Linked DNA regions of Homo sapiens: regions 1 and 3 are each linked to region 2. The links are contacts of gene promoters, found by promoter capture Hi-C in human tissues and cell types (Jung and others, 2019). All regions are on one chromosome and are shown on one strand. The core of a region is centred on a gene start or on the middle of the fragment in contact, and the rest is flanking DNA. Distances in the headings are between cores, read along the strand shown. Region 1 holds the start of LRRC59 (leucine rich repeat containing 59). Region 2 holds the start of SGCA (sarcoglycan alpha). Region 3 holds the start of MRPL27 (mitochondrial ribosomal protein L27).

Region 1 (4,387 bases), core at 207-2,706, 230 kb before region 2:
TTCATAGTTTCCCTCTGAGACAAGATTTTTTATTTTTTATTTTTTTAGAGATGGGGTCTTGCTATGTTGCCCAGACTGGTTTTGAACTCCTAGCCTCAAATAATCCTCTCATCTTGGCCTCCCAAGTATTGGGATTACAGGTGTGAGCTATCCTGCTCGGCCCCTCTGAGATAAGCTTTAATATCCCTATTTCAAAATGAGTAAACTGAGGTTTGGAGTGGGTAAAGTGCTTCCTTCCTTCATTCATTCATTCATTCATCCATCCATCTATTCATTTATTCAACAGACATCTGAATGAGTAGCTACCCTGCATCAGGGTATGCCAACTCTGGGCATACGAAGATGATTAAGACAAAAATCCCTGTCCTCACAGTCCAGAATGAAGGACAGACACATAAAGATGAGTATAATACAAGGTGGATCATGAATTGTAGCTAATATTTATTGGGTACTTACTAAGTGCCAGTGACTGCTGTAAGCTCTTGGTGTGTTTTACTCCTTCAGTTCTCCCCAACCTCTGTTAGCTACATGTCTCATAGATTGATTCATAGATAAGACTGAAGCCTGGTGATTGTCTACGGTTTTATAAGTAGCAAGTGGCAGAGCCAGGATGAATACCCAGTGGATAGGTATTAGTGCCAGAGGTCCCACTTGGCCATCAAGCTCTACTGTCTCTGATGATAAAGTAGCAAACAGGGACCTAAGTTGGTTGGGGGGGGCGCTAACTCAGTCTGGCATTCACGGTGTTCAGGGGAGATTTCCTGAAGGACTAAGGAATTAGCTAGACAGAGGTGAGTGGGGGGGAGGGAGGGCCATCGCTGGGGAGGGCCAGACGTGGGAGCCACCTCCTGGAAATCTACACAGCATCTAGGCCAGGCAGGGACTGGAGCGTGTGAGGAAGCTGCGAAAGCAGGCAGGACCCAGCTTCCAAAGGAAAGTGGTCCGTATCCTAGAGGTAGCTGCAAGTTTGAAGGGTTTTACGTAGGGGAGAGACTTGGCCAGATTTTTAGAAAGATCACCGGGGAGCTGGGTGAAAGTGGATGGAAGGACAGAGACAAGCACTGAGGCAGTGAGTGGGGAGGAGAGAGGAGAAATTCAGGAAGAAGAGTTTTCCCCATGATGGTTATTCGGGGGTTAAGTAGAGGACAGGGAGCAGTTTTAGAGGACACCCAGCTTCTGCTCCTAATCAGGGGGATTGGGGTGATCTGATGAGGTCAGTATTGGATGTCAACCCAGTCTTCTGGCGCCCAGTCCGTGCCCTTTCGCCTCGTGGCACTGCCAGCAATAATGCCCGCGGGCCACGGGTGAACGTGAACCGAGCTCGCAGCCTCCAACCCCACCCCTCCGGCGGCGGCGACGTGCAGTGCATCACCCTGGGCACCAGGGGGCGTGCCCGCACACGCTCGGGCCGCTCTGGCCCAGCCCATCTCAGTGGTCGCGGAAGGTGACGTGGACACGGAAGTGGTCGTCGTCGCGGCACCGGTGGGAGCTAGGCGCGAGGCTCGGAGTGCGGCCAGCGGGCGGAGGCGGTCTCGCATCGGCGGCGACGGAGGGCTCAGGCGTCGTCGTTTGGGTGGGGGGCCGCTGAACTGACAAGCGACATTTCAGCTCCTTTCACCCGCCGGAACCCCGGAGCCGGGGCCCGCTCAGCCGGCGTTACCATGACCAAGGCCGGTAGCAAGGGCGGGAACCTCCGCGACAAGCTGGACGGCAACGAACTGGACCTGAGCCTCAGCGACCTGAATGAGGTCCCGGTGAAGGAGCTGGTCAGTATCGTCCCGCGAGGCCCAGGCGCCCACCTTCGCCGGGCGCTGGCCCCTACGTGGGCCACTTACTTTCCTCTTCTCTAAAAGCATCAGTTTCCTTTTCTTTAAAAAGAAGCGGGGTGGTGGGACTAAGTCCCCTAGGAGGCCGCGTCCAGCCCAAGGTTCTTCCCGGGATGTACACGTGTCACTTTGGCGCAGTTCCAGAACATAGGGAAGATCTGCTTCTCTGGCCCTAGGCTTTTTACAGGCTAAGAAGCGAATCTGTCACCTTTGCGGGGCTTTCACAGCGCCCACCTCCGTGCCCGACTCTGAGTAGGAGCACACGGAGCAGTTACTGGATGTATTCGAGAATGAATGAGTGACTTGTTCCAGGGGAGTAGGCCTCCTGGTAGACCTGGGTGTGGCCCAGAACCTGGCTCTTCTAGGAAGCTGGCAATTCCAGCTGGCTGCCCGAGCCCTGAGGCAGCCTAACTCGAAGAAAGTAAAGTCTCCCCCCAGCTTGGCTGGTAAACTGTCATCTGAATTCCGCTGAAACTGGCGGGAGTCCCTTTCGCCCCTCTCTCCCCCAACCTTTCCCCTGTAAACTGAAGCTTACAGCTCCAGAGAGATAGCAGGCATCTAGTTTTGTCAGCGTGGAGCTAGTTCCCACATCCCTCCTTTTCCCACTCCGTTCCCCCTCCCACCCGCGCCAACGCCCTACTAGACTCACTTTGGGTGACCCACACTTTGCTTTCTGCCGTTGATAAATTACATTTGCCTTGGGCGCTGGGCCCAGTCTTTCTTCCACCGTGGACGGGTATTACAGTGGTTAGAACCGGGTTCCTAGCTCCTCCCAGCTCCATTGCTTAATAGCCGAGTGCCCTTGGCAAGCTAGTTAGCCTTTATGCCTAGATCTCCTCATCTATACAATGGTGATAATAGTTTCCATCTCATACGCTTATTGGGAGGTTAAATACCATTGTAATGGAAAATGCTTGGAAGGAGCAAATACTGATACTTGTAGCTGTTGTTGTGTTTTTCCCGCTGTAGTATTTAAAACTTTTTTAGGTGGTCAAACTTCACTTTTACGACTTTGTGACAGAAAGTGCAGGTTGCCAGAGGATCCTTAACTGAATATATGCCTCCTTTTCTACCCCAGGAAGATAGATGGCCAGCCTTATTTCACCCTGCCCTAGGACTGCTCTCTGAAACCATATACTCCAGGCATCTGAACAGTCCAGCATTAACCTTAGGGAGAAAGTTTTGCTGAGCTTGTCCAGCCTGGACACCATGGGAAAATAGAGATGGGCTGTGAGGGCCTTTTTTTTTTTTGGATGATGGAGTTTTGCTGTTGTTGCCCAGGAGTGATCTCGGCTCACTGAAACCTCTGCCTCCCGGGTTCAAGCGATTCTCCTGCCTCAGCCTCCCGAGTAGCTGGGATTACAAGCGTGTGCCACCATGCCTGGCTAATTTTCTATTTTTAGTAGAGACAGGGTTTCTCCGTGTTGGTCAGGCTGGTCTCGAACTCCTGACTTCAGGTGATTGCCTGCCTCAGCCTCCCAAAGTGGTGGGATTACAGGCGTGAGCCACCGCACCCGGCAGGGCCTTGTTTTTTCACTCTGTCATTCACTCCGCTACTTACTCGATCAGTCATGATTCAGGCAACATGTATGGATATTGAGTACCTGTTCTGAGGAAGGGCCTGAACTGGGGAATATGGAAATTGCAAAGCTTTATTAGACACTGTCCCTGCCCTGAAACCTAATAAGAGGGACGCTGGGTAATATTTATTTTTAAAGTGCTAGGAATAATGTCTAAGAATCTAAATTTTGCTTGCCTGCCTGCCTGCCTGCCTTCCTTTCTTTTTTTTTTTTTTTGAGATGGGGTCTCACTGTGTTGTGCAGGCCGGCCTCAAACTCCTGAACTCCTGGGCTCAAGCGATCCTCCTGTCTCAGCTTTCTGAGTAGCTGAGACTATGAGACTACAGGTGTGAGTCCCTGTGCCTCGCCTAAGGTTTACCTTCTTGGAGGTTGTACAGCCACATCCCTTCTCTTTGCATTCTTCCTTAGATCATGGTTGACTGGCTTATTTTTCCTCTTATTCCCAGGAACATTACTCTTTACTGCCATTTTAAAAGGCCTTTCCTAATCATGGGAACATTCTCTGGAAAATGCTTCATTAACATATGTCAGTGAATTGTTCCAGATGTTGGTCTGACATGTTTTTCTCATCCTCTTTTACCTAGGCTGCCCTTCCAAAGGCCACCATCCTGGATCTGTCTTGTAATAAACTGACTACTCTACCGGTAAGATTGGCATGCAGCCGTGACTCCTTCTGGTGCCTTGGATGCATCTCCTTCCTGTTTCGGGGGTTGAGAGGGGGGTGGGAGGGTGTCATAAGGTGTAATTTCAGGATAGGCCTACAGGCAGGCTATAGCTAAATCTGAGTGTGTAGGGGAGGCACAGTGGAATGGAGTGGTTGGTCTCAGTGGGAAAGGAATTGAGATGGAGGCCTCATTCTTCAGAACAGTGGTAAAGTCAGTCCACAGAAAACTAAACTCAACAGGGTGCTGAGTAACTTACTGGGCTCATCTTTTTTCTACATTATTTTATTCCTCTGAAAAATAGTTTACCTCCCTACTG
Region 2 (4,787 bases), core at 35-2,534:
CCTTGGAGCCCCTAAGGGACCGAGAGAAGCGCTTCCTTTGCTGCCTCCCAGGAAGGGATTGGGGTGGGGATGGGGGAGCAAGCCCTGCTGGGCTAGACATTTTAATCGTCTGGGTTTCGGGATTCGAGGGAGAACCTCTCCCACAACCTTTCCATTCCTTGTTTTAGGCCCCTATTAATGGTGCAGTGGGCAGGGACTGATGTTTGACTGGGAAGTGTGTGTGTGAGGGTGTGTGTGTGTGTGAGGGGATGTGGGGGGGTGTGTGTGTGAAGGTATGTGTGAGGGTCTGTGAGGATGTGTGTGAGGGTGTGTGTGCAAGTGAGTGTGTGTGAGAGGGTGTGTGTGAGGGTGTGTGTGTGTGAAGGTGTGTGTGGGGGGTGTGTGTTTGCGGGGGGTGTGTGGGGGTATGTGGGGGTATGTGGGGGTGTGTGTGGGGGGTGTGTGTGACGGTGTGTGGGGTGTGTGTGTGACGGTGTGTGTGAGGGTGTGTGTGTGAGGGTGTGTGAGGGTGTGTGAGGGTGTGTGTGTGAGGGTGTGTGAGGGTGTGTGAGGGTGTGTGTGAGGGTGTGTGTGTGAGGGTGCCGTGAGGGTGTGTGTGAGGGTGTGTGTGGGTGTGTGTGTGTGTGAGGGTGTGTATGTGTGAAAGGCACTGGGAAAAGAATCCCATGCTAAATGCCCAAGAGCCCAGAGGAGAGGAAGACGGGGCCAGGAGCCTACAGAGGAGGAAGGGTAGCCATTCTGGGCCTGGAGACCCCCACCTTCCTCCCCTAAAATACAGGGAAGAAGAAGGCCTGCCCTAGAGGCCAGTAGGAGCTGAGCAAAAGGAATCCTAAGTCCAAGAGAGGAGCAGAGGACCTGGCCGCCAGCTCCACCCTCCCTCCCAGGGCCAAATTTAGCCTGGGCTTAGAAGCTGCGGCCCAGCCAGCTCATTAAAGGGCCCACGACCCTTTGGGCCTGTGCTGTCAGACCCACCCGGGCCCTAGGACACCTCCAGCCCTCAGAGCTCCCAGCCCCTTCATCCCAGAGCCCAGCTCCCAGCCCCATTCCCTGGATCCCCAGCTGGCCATGGCATTAACACCCCAAAGCCCTTCTGGCGCCTGCCTCACCCAACCCAGATCCCTCTTCTGTGGGCCCTCCACACCTCCGTCTTACCACCCCTAAATCCTGCCCCCTCATCCTGGGCCTCCCCGCTGAACAAGGCCCCAACTTGCCCACGAGGAGAGGAGTCCAGAAGAGTGTCTCAGCCATGGCTGCCCGGCCTGGCCCGCCCGGTGAGTGACAGAGACAGGGGGCAGGGAGGAGAGGAGGGAAGGAGGGAGGTGGCTCGGGGCAGCTGGGTCCCAGCGTCAGCCTCCCCTCCCCGCCTGGAGCATGCACCAAATCTGGGATAGACACCCTCCTCGCACTCATTGTCCCTCCAACCGTCCCCTCCAGTGGCCACAGTGTTTTTTAAACCACCAACCAGGCCACCTCCATCCTCCCTTAAAACTCTAATGGTTCTCATGGCCCCTGAGTTCCCAGCTCATCCCCAGTTGGTGGCTTTCTGGCCTGTCCTGAACCTGGTCAGCTGGTCTAGAATCCCATCCTCTGCCCCTACCCTTCCAACCCCAGGCCCCTGCTCAGCCTCACTCCGCTCCTGCCTAGCTTGGCAGACTCTCTCAAGTCTCCAAGCCGTCGTCCAGGCTATTGCCTCTGCCTGCAGTTCCCTTCCCACCTTCATTCAAGCAGCAACCTTCCAGTCACCTTTCCAGACTCTGCACAGATGTCCTCTCCTCTCTGAAGCCTTTCTGACCTCCCTTCTTCTGCTAGGCCAAGCTGGGTGTCCCCTTAGCCCCTGCGTGCTTTCCTGGGCACAACACAATCACACAGACTGCTCCAAGCTCCTCGAAGACTAGGATCTTGTCACGTTTGTATCCTTGGGCCTGGCACAGGGCCTGGTAACTAGTAGGTGTAGCTGGCTGGCGGCAGCTTCCTTAACAGCAAACGTAGGTGCCATCCACCCAGCCTTTATCCCCAGTCCAAGCACTTCAGCGTGGAGGTCTAGCAAGCCCTGGACAGGACCAGCCAGCTAGAGACAGGTGAGCGGAGGAGGCACCCTCTCTGGCCCATGGAGTCAGGGTTCATTCGGCGCATAGACTTGGAGGCCTGGAGGTGGGCCACCTTGGCCACTTGCTGGGGATGAGGCCTTGAGTGCACCATTTGCCCTCTAGCCCATTTCCACAACTATAAACTGGCAAGAATAGTGCTTGCCTCTTGGCATCATTGTGAGGACTCCACAAAGTAATGAATGCAGCGCATATTTATGAAACACCTGCTATGTATCAGACATTGAAATTGCAAAGATAAGCAAACCTCTGCCCACATGGAGGTCACCTGCCAGTGGGTAATACCAGCTAGCGCTGCCAGCTACTGTGCTGAGAATCTTACATATATCTACCTATATTACCTCATTCCATCTCCTCAGCAGTTCCATGAGGCAGGTATTATTACTGTGCCCATTTAACAGATGATAAAACTGAGGCACAGGGGTGTATACCTTCCCCAAGGCCACATTGCTGATGAGTAGAATGCATGTGGACGGCTTAGCCCAGTGCCTGGCTCAGTCGATGACTGTGCTGCTGATGTACTTGCCCGGCCCTGCTTCCCCTTCCTTCTTGCCTCTGCCAAAGGATCTCAGTCCAGGGGCGATGGGGCGCGGTGTCCTCTCCCCAGGTCTCTCACTTAGGGCAGGCACAGGGGCACTCTCCCCAGGTGCCCTGAGAAGGGGGCGGGGACCTATGGCTGCCAGGGTTCCCAAATCCTTGGTGCCTGTGTGACCTCTCCTCCAGGGCCTCAAAAGGACAACAAAATACCCCAGGCAAGGATCACTTGGGTCCAGCCTAAGGGCACAGGTGTTGGCCTGCAGATGGGGTGACTGGTAGGCAGGTTACGCAGTCCTTGTCCCTTCCTCTCTCTCTCTCCACCTGACTGACCCGCTCATCCCTGGAGAGCCACCAAATTCCAGAGTCAGCGTCCCCTCAGGCAAGGCAGTATTTGTCCCAGCATCACCTGGCCATCTCTCTGTCTTCTCAGAGACAGAGGGAGGGAGGAAGAAAGGTTCTGGAGGCAGAGGAAGAGCCCAAGGGTTCTGGGGGAGCAGGCAGAAGTGCCAACCCCCTGGGCACCTGCCCAGCCTCACCCCTGAGCTTCTCCATGTGACTCCCCGCCCCCTGCCGTCCCCCTGGCTATTTTTGGAGCCACCCACTCAGCTGTCTTAAGGTAGCAGTGCCTGGCCCCAGTGTCACCAGGCCCACAGAGGCCAGCCTTCCTTAATGAAAAGCTGCAGCTACTTCCCCATCAGATCCTCCCTGCCCAATTCAAGGGAGCCAGGGACTGTCCCACAAGCCAGAAAGTCCCCAGAAACCCTTCTCAGGCCCCTCAGCCATCAGAGGACCTTCCCACTCAGAGCTGTCTGGATTGCAACCTGCTGCTTGTAACACACAGCACCTTCTGTCTATTGGGCCTAGGGGTGGGAAGGGAGGTCACAGGGTCTTTAAACTTCTTAGTTTGAAAAATTTGCAGCATACTATAATAAGCCCCCGTGTATCTGTCACCTGGCTTCAACAATTATCAACTCATGGCCAGTCTAGTTTCATCTGTACCCCTCCTGATTAATTTCATCCATCAATATTTCAGTGTGTATCTTTAAATGATAATGACTCTTTTTAACATAATCACATAACACGTTCAGCTATTAACATCATCAATAAAATTCCTTAATATCAAACTTCTAGTGTTCAAATTACCAATTTCTCATAAACATACATATTTTTACAGTGTATTTGTTTGACTCAAGATACAAAGAAGATACACACATTGCAACTGATTGATGATTTATAGGGCTTTTTTTTTTTTTTTTTTTGAGACAGAGTCTCGCTCTGTCACCCGGGTTGGAGTGCAGTGCCATGATCTCGGCTCACTGCCACCTCCACCTCCCAGATTCAAGCAATTCTCCTGCCTCAGCCTACAGGCACGTGCCACCATGCCCAGGGGTTTCACCATGTTGGCCAGGCTGGTCTCAAACTCCTGACCTCAAGTGATCCACCCACCTTGGCCTCACAAAGTGCTGAGATTACGGGCGTGAGCCACTGTGCCTGGCCAAGGCTCTTTTAAATTTCTTCAAATCTATAGGTTCCCATACATCCTTTCTCTCTCTTTTTTCCTTCCTCCCTTCCTTCCTTCCTTCCTTCATACTTTCCTTCCTTTCCTCCCTCCTTCCTTCCTTCCCTCCCTCCCTCCTTCTTCTTCCTTCTCTCCCTCCCTCCCTCCTTCTTCTTCCTTCTCTCCCTCCCTCCCTCCTTTCTTCCTTCCTTCCCTCCCTCCCTCCCTCCTTTCTTCCTTCCTTCCCTCCCTCCCTCTCCTTCCTTCCTTCCTTCCTTCCTTCCCTCCCTCCCTTCTCTTTCTCGTTCCTTGAAGGAGCCAGAAAATTTCTTCTGTAGTTTTTTGCCCTCTGGATTTTGCTGATTGCATCTCTATGGTGATCTTTAACATGTTCCTCCCACCTCCATACTTCCTGTACGTTGTATTTCCTGTACATTGTTACTGTAATTTGTAGTTGGATCTAGAGGCCTTATAAGGTTTATGTTCAATTTCCTTCGTTGAGACCACTTCATAGGTGGTGACAGTGTTCTTCCATTTGAAGGCACATCATGCGTTTCTGTGGTCTTAGTAGTGTCTTGCCTCCGCCATTAGCGTTTTATTTTTTGTGTGTGTGCAGAATAGTGATATTCAGATTTGATCACTCTGAT
Region 3 (4,366 bases), core at 1,505-4,004, 210 kb before region 2:
CTGGGCTTTCATCCTGGTAACCAGTGCTGCATTCTTTCTTTCCTGTCTTCTCAGGGTGCTTTCCTTCTGCCTTGCTTGTCTCTGCTGCCGGCATCCGTGTGAGCCTCTTCCCTGGACCTTCTGACTCGGCTTGGTTTTCTTCTGGGGTGGAAGGATGTCAGAATTTGTTTTGGTTACTGCCAAGCTGCTGCTCTGGCCAGGGCAGGTAGACAGGTAGGCTGGAAGCTGACAGCATGGATCTAAGATCAGGTCCTTGTTATCTGCTGCACTCCTCTCTGGGGTATCATGGAGGGGAACTTCAGGGATCTTTGGAAAGGGCTTTTTCCAGTCACATGATGCACCTTCATTATTTTGATGATCCAAAACACTTTTAACTGGGGAGCTAGAGTCCTCAGGGCTCAGTTGCTTGTGGGTCAGAAACTTACATGTAAGCCTTTGAGCCAGAGGAATAAATTCTTCTTCATCTTCACTTTCACTGCTTAGCAACCTGACTGGCTGTGTTTGTGTGACAGTTTCAGCTATTTCTGGGACAGGTGGTGAAAATAACTCTGGTGCTGGAGGACAGGAGGCTTCACAATCTGAGATGTCAACCACTACAATCTTCTCTTCCCTTTCAGGCTGTCTCCTCTTTGTTGAAGATGGTTCCTTCTTCAGAAAGGCAAATGTTGGCAACTCCTCAGAGTCACTATCACCAGAATCCAGTGAGGGTGATGACTTCTTTAGAGCCATCAGTATGTGCTATCAAATAATTCCCTAAAAGGAAAAGAGACATATGACACAGACTGGAGCATTCAATTCAGTCCACTAGCTGTGTTCCATAGCCAGGCTTTATGACATAAATATAAGATATAGAGAATACAGAAACAGAGAAATATGACATGGCCCCAACACATTCAATCTGGAACTCTAACTCCTGGTAATCTAACAGGAATCCTCCTCAAATTCTTTCCAGGTCAAGCTGAAGTATAAACAAAGTAGAGTTACCATTACAAAATTTTAATGGGGGGAGGTGGTAACAAGATTTAACACCTCCAACCCCTTGTTTATCTTCACGTTTGAAATGGAGATGTCAAAAGTTCTTCTTTTTTTTTTTTGAGATGGAGTCTCACTCTGGCACCCACGTTGGAGTGCAGTGGCACAATCTTGGCTCACTGCAACCTCACTCCCAGGTTCAAGTGATTCTCCTGCCTCAGCCTAGCTGGGATTACAGGCGCCCCACCACCACACCTGGCTAATTTTTGTATTTTTAGTAGAGATGCGTTTTCATCATGTTCGCCAGGCTAGTCTTGAACTCCTGACCTCAAGTGATCCGCCCGCCTTGGCCTCCCAAAGTGCTGAGATTACAGGTGTGAACCACTGCACCTGGCCAAAAACTGTTCTTTTTAAAAATTGAGATATAGGCTGGGCATGGTAGCTCATGCGTATAATCCCAGCACTTTGGGAGGCCAAAGCAGAAGGATCACTTGAGCCCAGGAGTTCGAGAACAGCCTGGGCAACATAGTGAGAACTCGTCTCTACAAAAAAATACAAAAATTAGCTGGGTATGGTGGCTCACACCTGTAGTCCCAGATACTCAGGAGGCTGAGGTGGGAGGATTGCTTGAGCCTGGGAGGTCAAGGCTGCAGTGAGCTGTGATTGTACGACTGCACTCCAGCCCGGGTGACAGAGTGAGACCCTGCTTCAAAAGAAAAATAAAATAAAAATAAAAATAGAGATATAATTTGCACAGCATAATATCCTTTTAAAAGTGTACATTCAGTAGATTTTAGTATATTCACAATGTTGTGCAACCATCATCACTATTTTATCACCTCAAAAAGAATTCCTGCAGCCATTAAGCCGTCACTGTCCTTTCCCTCCCTCCCCAGCTCCTGGCAACCATAAATCTGTCTCTATGCATTTGCCTATTCTGGATATTTCATATAAATAGAATCATACACTATGTGGCCTTTTGTGATTGACTTTTTTCACTCAGCTTGTTTTCAAGGTTTATCTATGATGTAGCCTGTATCAGTAGTTAATTGCTTTTCATGACTGAATAATATTCCACTGTATGGATATGCTACATTTTGTTTATCCATTCATCACTTGGACATTTAATTTGTTTCCTTTTTTTGCCTGTTATGAATAATGCTGCTATGAACACTGACATACAAGTTTTTGTGGGGGTATGTTTTCAAATCCCTTTCGTGTATATACCTAGGAGTAGAATTGCTGGGTCATATGCAAAGCTAATCATTTCTTGAACATTTACTAACACTGTAGGTATGACCCAGAAGGAGACATGTAACCTGCCTAGGCCTCAGTTTCTTCCTTAGTAAAACAGGGATGGTAACAGCACCCATTTTATAAGGTAGTGAGAATTAAATAAAATAATGCATCCACCGCGCTTAGTACAGCATCTGGCACACAGCTGGCTAAGTAGAGTAAGTTGAATGACTAGGGAGGGGGCCTCATCTCTGACCCTTCGCTGGGCCTCCGTTGACATCTGCAAATCAGGGGAGTGGGACAAGCGGGCCCCTGCCCGACAAGCTCTGCGCCTCTCAGGCTGGCGGTCCGCTGCAGAGGCTCCTGGACACCTTAGCCACCAAGATTCTGCAGAGCGGTGTTCAGGAGGGAAGCCCTGCCCAATCCGCAGGCCTGCGACCGGGGACGCTCACCTGCAACTTCTCCCGCCACTCTTTCAACTGCCACGCAGGGCCCGGAAGTAGATCTCCTGATAGCGGAAGTAGAAACTTTTCGAGACCGGAAGTGAGTGATCGAAAGCATGGCGTCGGTGGTGTTGGCGCTGAGGACCCGGACAGCCGGTAATGGGACGCAGTAGTCAGAGCGGGGTGAGGCGGGGAGGCAGAGTGGAGCTCCAGCAGGGAGGGAAGGAGGTGACACTGATCCCCGCGGAGGACCTTGGATGCGAGGGGAAGTGTGTGGGGTACTCCAGGTTTGAGGGACGGTGTCGCTGGTCACGTGACACATCCTGGGTGGAGCCGTGAGTGAGGGCGTTTGAAGAGCACTTGTCTTTCTCCTGCCTCAGCAGCACGGACGGGTTCCTTGGCGGTTGGGGATTTGGGTGGGTCCTTTCTCTGTAGAAGTATTAGTAACATTGGCATATTGGGGTTGAAAAAATTAATCTATTGATTCAGCAGATTGAGGTCTTACTTTGTGCTAGACACGGCGGTAGGTGTTCGGAAAATCAGCAGAAAACGTGAAGACTTGGCTTCTAGCCCCCGAACGGTTCTCTCTGGTGCATAAGGCAATAAATGAACATATAAAGTAGATGTAGACTGGCAAGTGCTGTGAAGAAGGATAATGTGTGTCTGTGTGTGTGTCTTTTTTTAGATTGGACGGTGAAGGAAGGCTTCTGAGGAGATAACATTTAAAACCTAAAGAATGACAGGCGGGGCGTGATGGCTCACGCCTGTAGTCCCAACACTTTGGGAGGCCTAGGTGGGCGGATCGCTTGAGCCCAGGAGTTCAAGACCGACTGGGCAACATGGCAAAACCCCATCTCTACAAAAAATACAAAAATTAGCTGGGTGTAGTGGCGCTTGCCTGTGGTCTCAGATACTCAGGAGGCTGAGGTGGGAGGATCACCTGAGCTCGGGAGGTCGAGGTTGCAGTGAGCTATGTTCATACCACTGCACTCCAGCCTGGGTGACAGAATGGGGCCCTATCCCCCCCCCCCAAAAAAAAAAGAATGACAGGAGACCTAGACCTGTGTAGAGTGAGGGACAGGAGAGTGACTTGAGCCAGTTTTACATTTTGAGAAGCAAACTATTGCTCTTATGTAAATTTAAAGGGGATAGGAGTGGAAATGAGGAAATCAAATGGAAAGTCGTAATAGCCCTGAGGAGAGATGATTTAGCCAAGATGTTTGTGGTGGCAGTGAACTTGGAGGAAAACGGATGAATTTGAGATCTGTTTTGGAGTTAGCATCCACAGAGCTTGCTGGTGAACAATATGTGAGGACAGCAAAGAGAAGGAATCTGCAATGACTCTGGTTTCTGCCTAAGCAACTGGATGAATGGTGGTACCATTTACTTTGAGGAGGAGGATGGGGAGTAGGGTGAAGAGCAAAGATTTGTGAGTGAGATAATGTAAGTAAAGTAAAAGCCCAGCTCCTGAGCTTAGTAAGTATGTAAATGAATGAATAGATGTTTAAAGGTAGGTAGATCCTGGCGCCGGGCATGTTTTAACATGTTGTCTTTCTGAGTCCTTATCTCTGGTCCTTTGCCCCAGCTAGTCTCTGGTGTCATGGAAATGTCAGAAACCCAGGCTTCAGGAACTCTGAACTTATAGGCTCCAGAGACCCACAAGGCTTCTCTAAAGACACTGGCATGGACCTTAAATCATGGCTGTGTCTGGAGAC

What was found. Contacts are between HindIII fragments. The study calls those that stand out against the background at their distance.
Region 1: the fragment with the promoter of LRRC59 here is called in contact with the fragment with the promoter of SGCA in region 2 in 1 of the 25 tissues and cell types used here (mesenchymal stem cells).
Region 3: a contact is called between the fragment with the promoter of MRPL27 here and the fragment with the promoter of SGCA in region 2, in 2 of the 25 tissues and cell types used here (IMR-90 fibroblasts and lymphoblastoid cells).

Annotation. Positions count from the first base shown.
Region 1 is chr17:50,394,592-50,398,978 of GRCh38, reverse strand. LRRC59 (leucine rich repeat containing 59) reads left to right here and starts at 1,456. Exons shown (of 7, transcript NM_018509.4): 1 at 1,456-1,766; 2 at 3,991-4,050. The coding sequence starts at 1,662. It overlaps LRRC59-AS1 (LRRC59 antisense RNA 1), which reads right to left and starts at 4,055. Exons shown (of 2, transcript NR_199069.1): 1 at 3,987-4,055; 2 at 422-1,763. RefSeq lists a silencer at 1,410-1,479. The HindIII fragment of the contact is 9,986 bases long and covers 1-2,916 here.
Region 2 is chr17:50,162,502-50,167,288 of GRCh38, reverse strand. SGCA (sarcoglycan alpha) reads right to left here and starts at 1,284. Exons shown (of 10, transcript NM_000023.4): 1 at 1,212-1,284. The coding sequence starts at 1,248. It overlaps LOC105371818 (a long non-coding RNA gene), which reads left to right and starts at 932. Exons shown (of 4, transcript XR_934833.3): 1 at 932-1,271; 2 at 1,810-2,078. RefSeq lists an enhancer at 3,190-3,690. The HindIII fragment of the contact is 20,868 bases long and covers 1-4,787 here.
Region 3 is chr17:50,371,572-50,375,937 of GRCh38, reverse strand. It overlaps MRPL27 (mitochondrial ribosomal protein L27), which reads left to right and starts at 2,754. Exons shown (of 4, transcript NM_016504.3): 1 at 2,754-2,807. The coding sequence starts at 2,768. EME1 (essential meiotic structure-specific endonuclease 1) reads right to left here and starts at 2,709. Exons shown (of 9, transcript NM_152463.4): 1 at 2,661-2,709; 2 at 1-753. The coding sequence starts at 729. RefSeq lists enhancers at 2,391-2,610, 2,751-3,220. The HindIII fragment of the contact is 32,602 bases long and covers 1-4,366 here.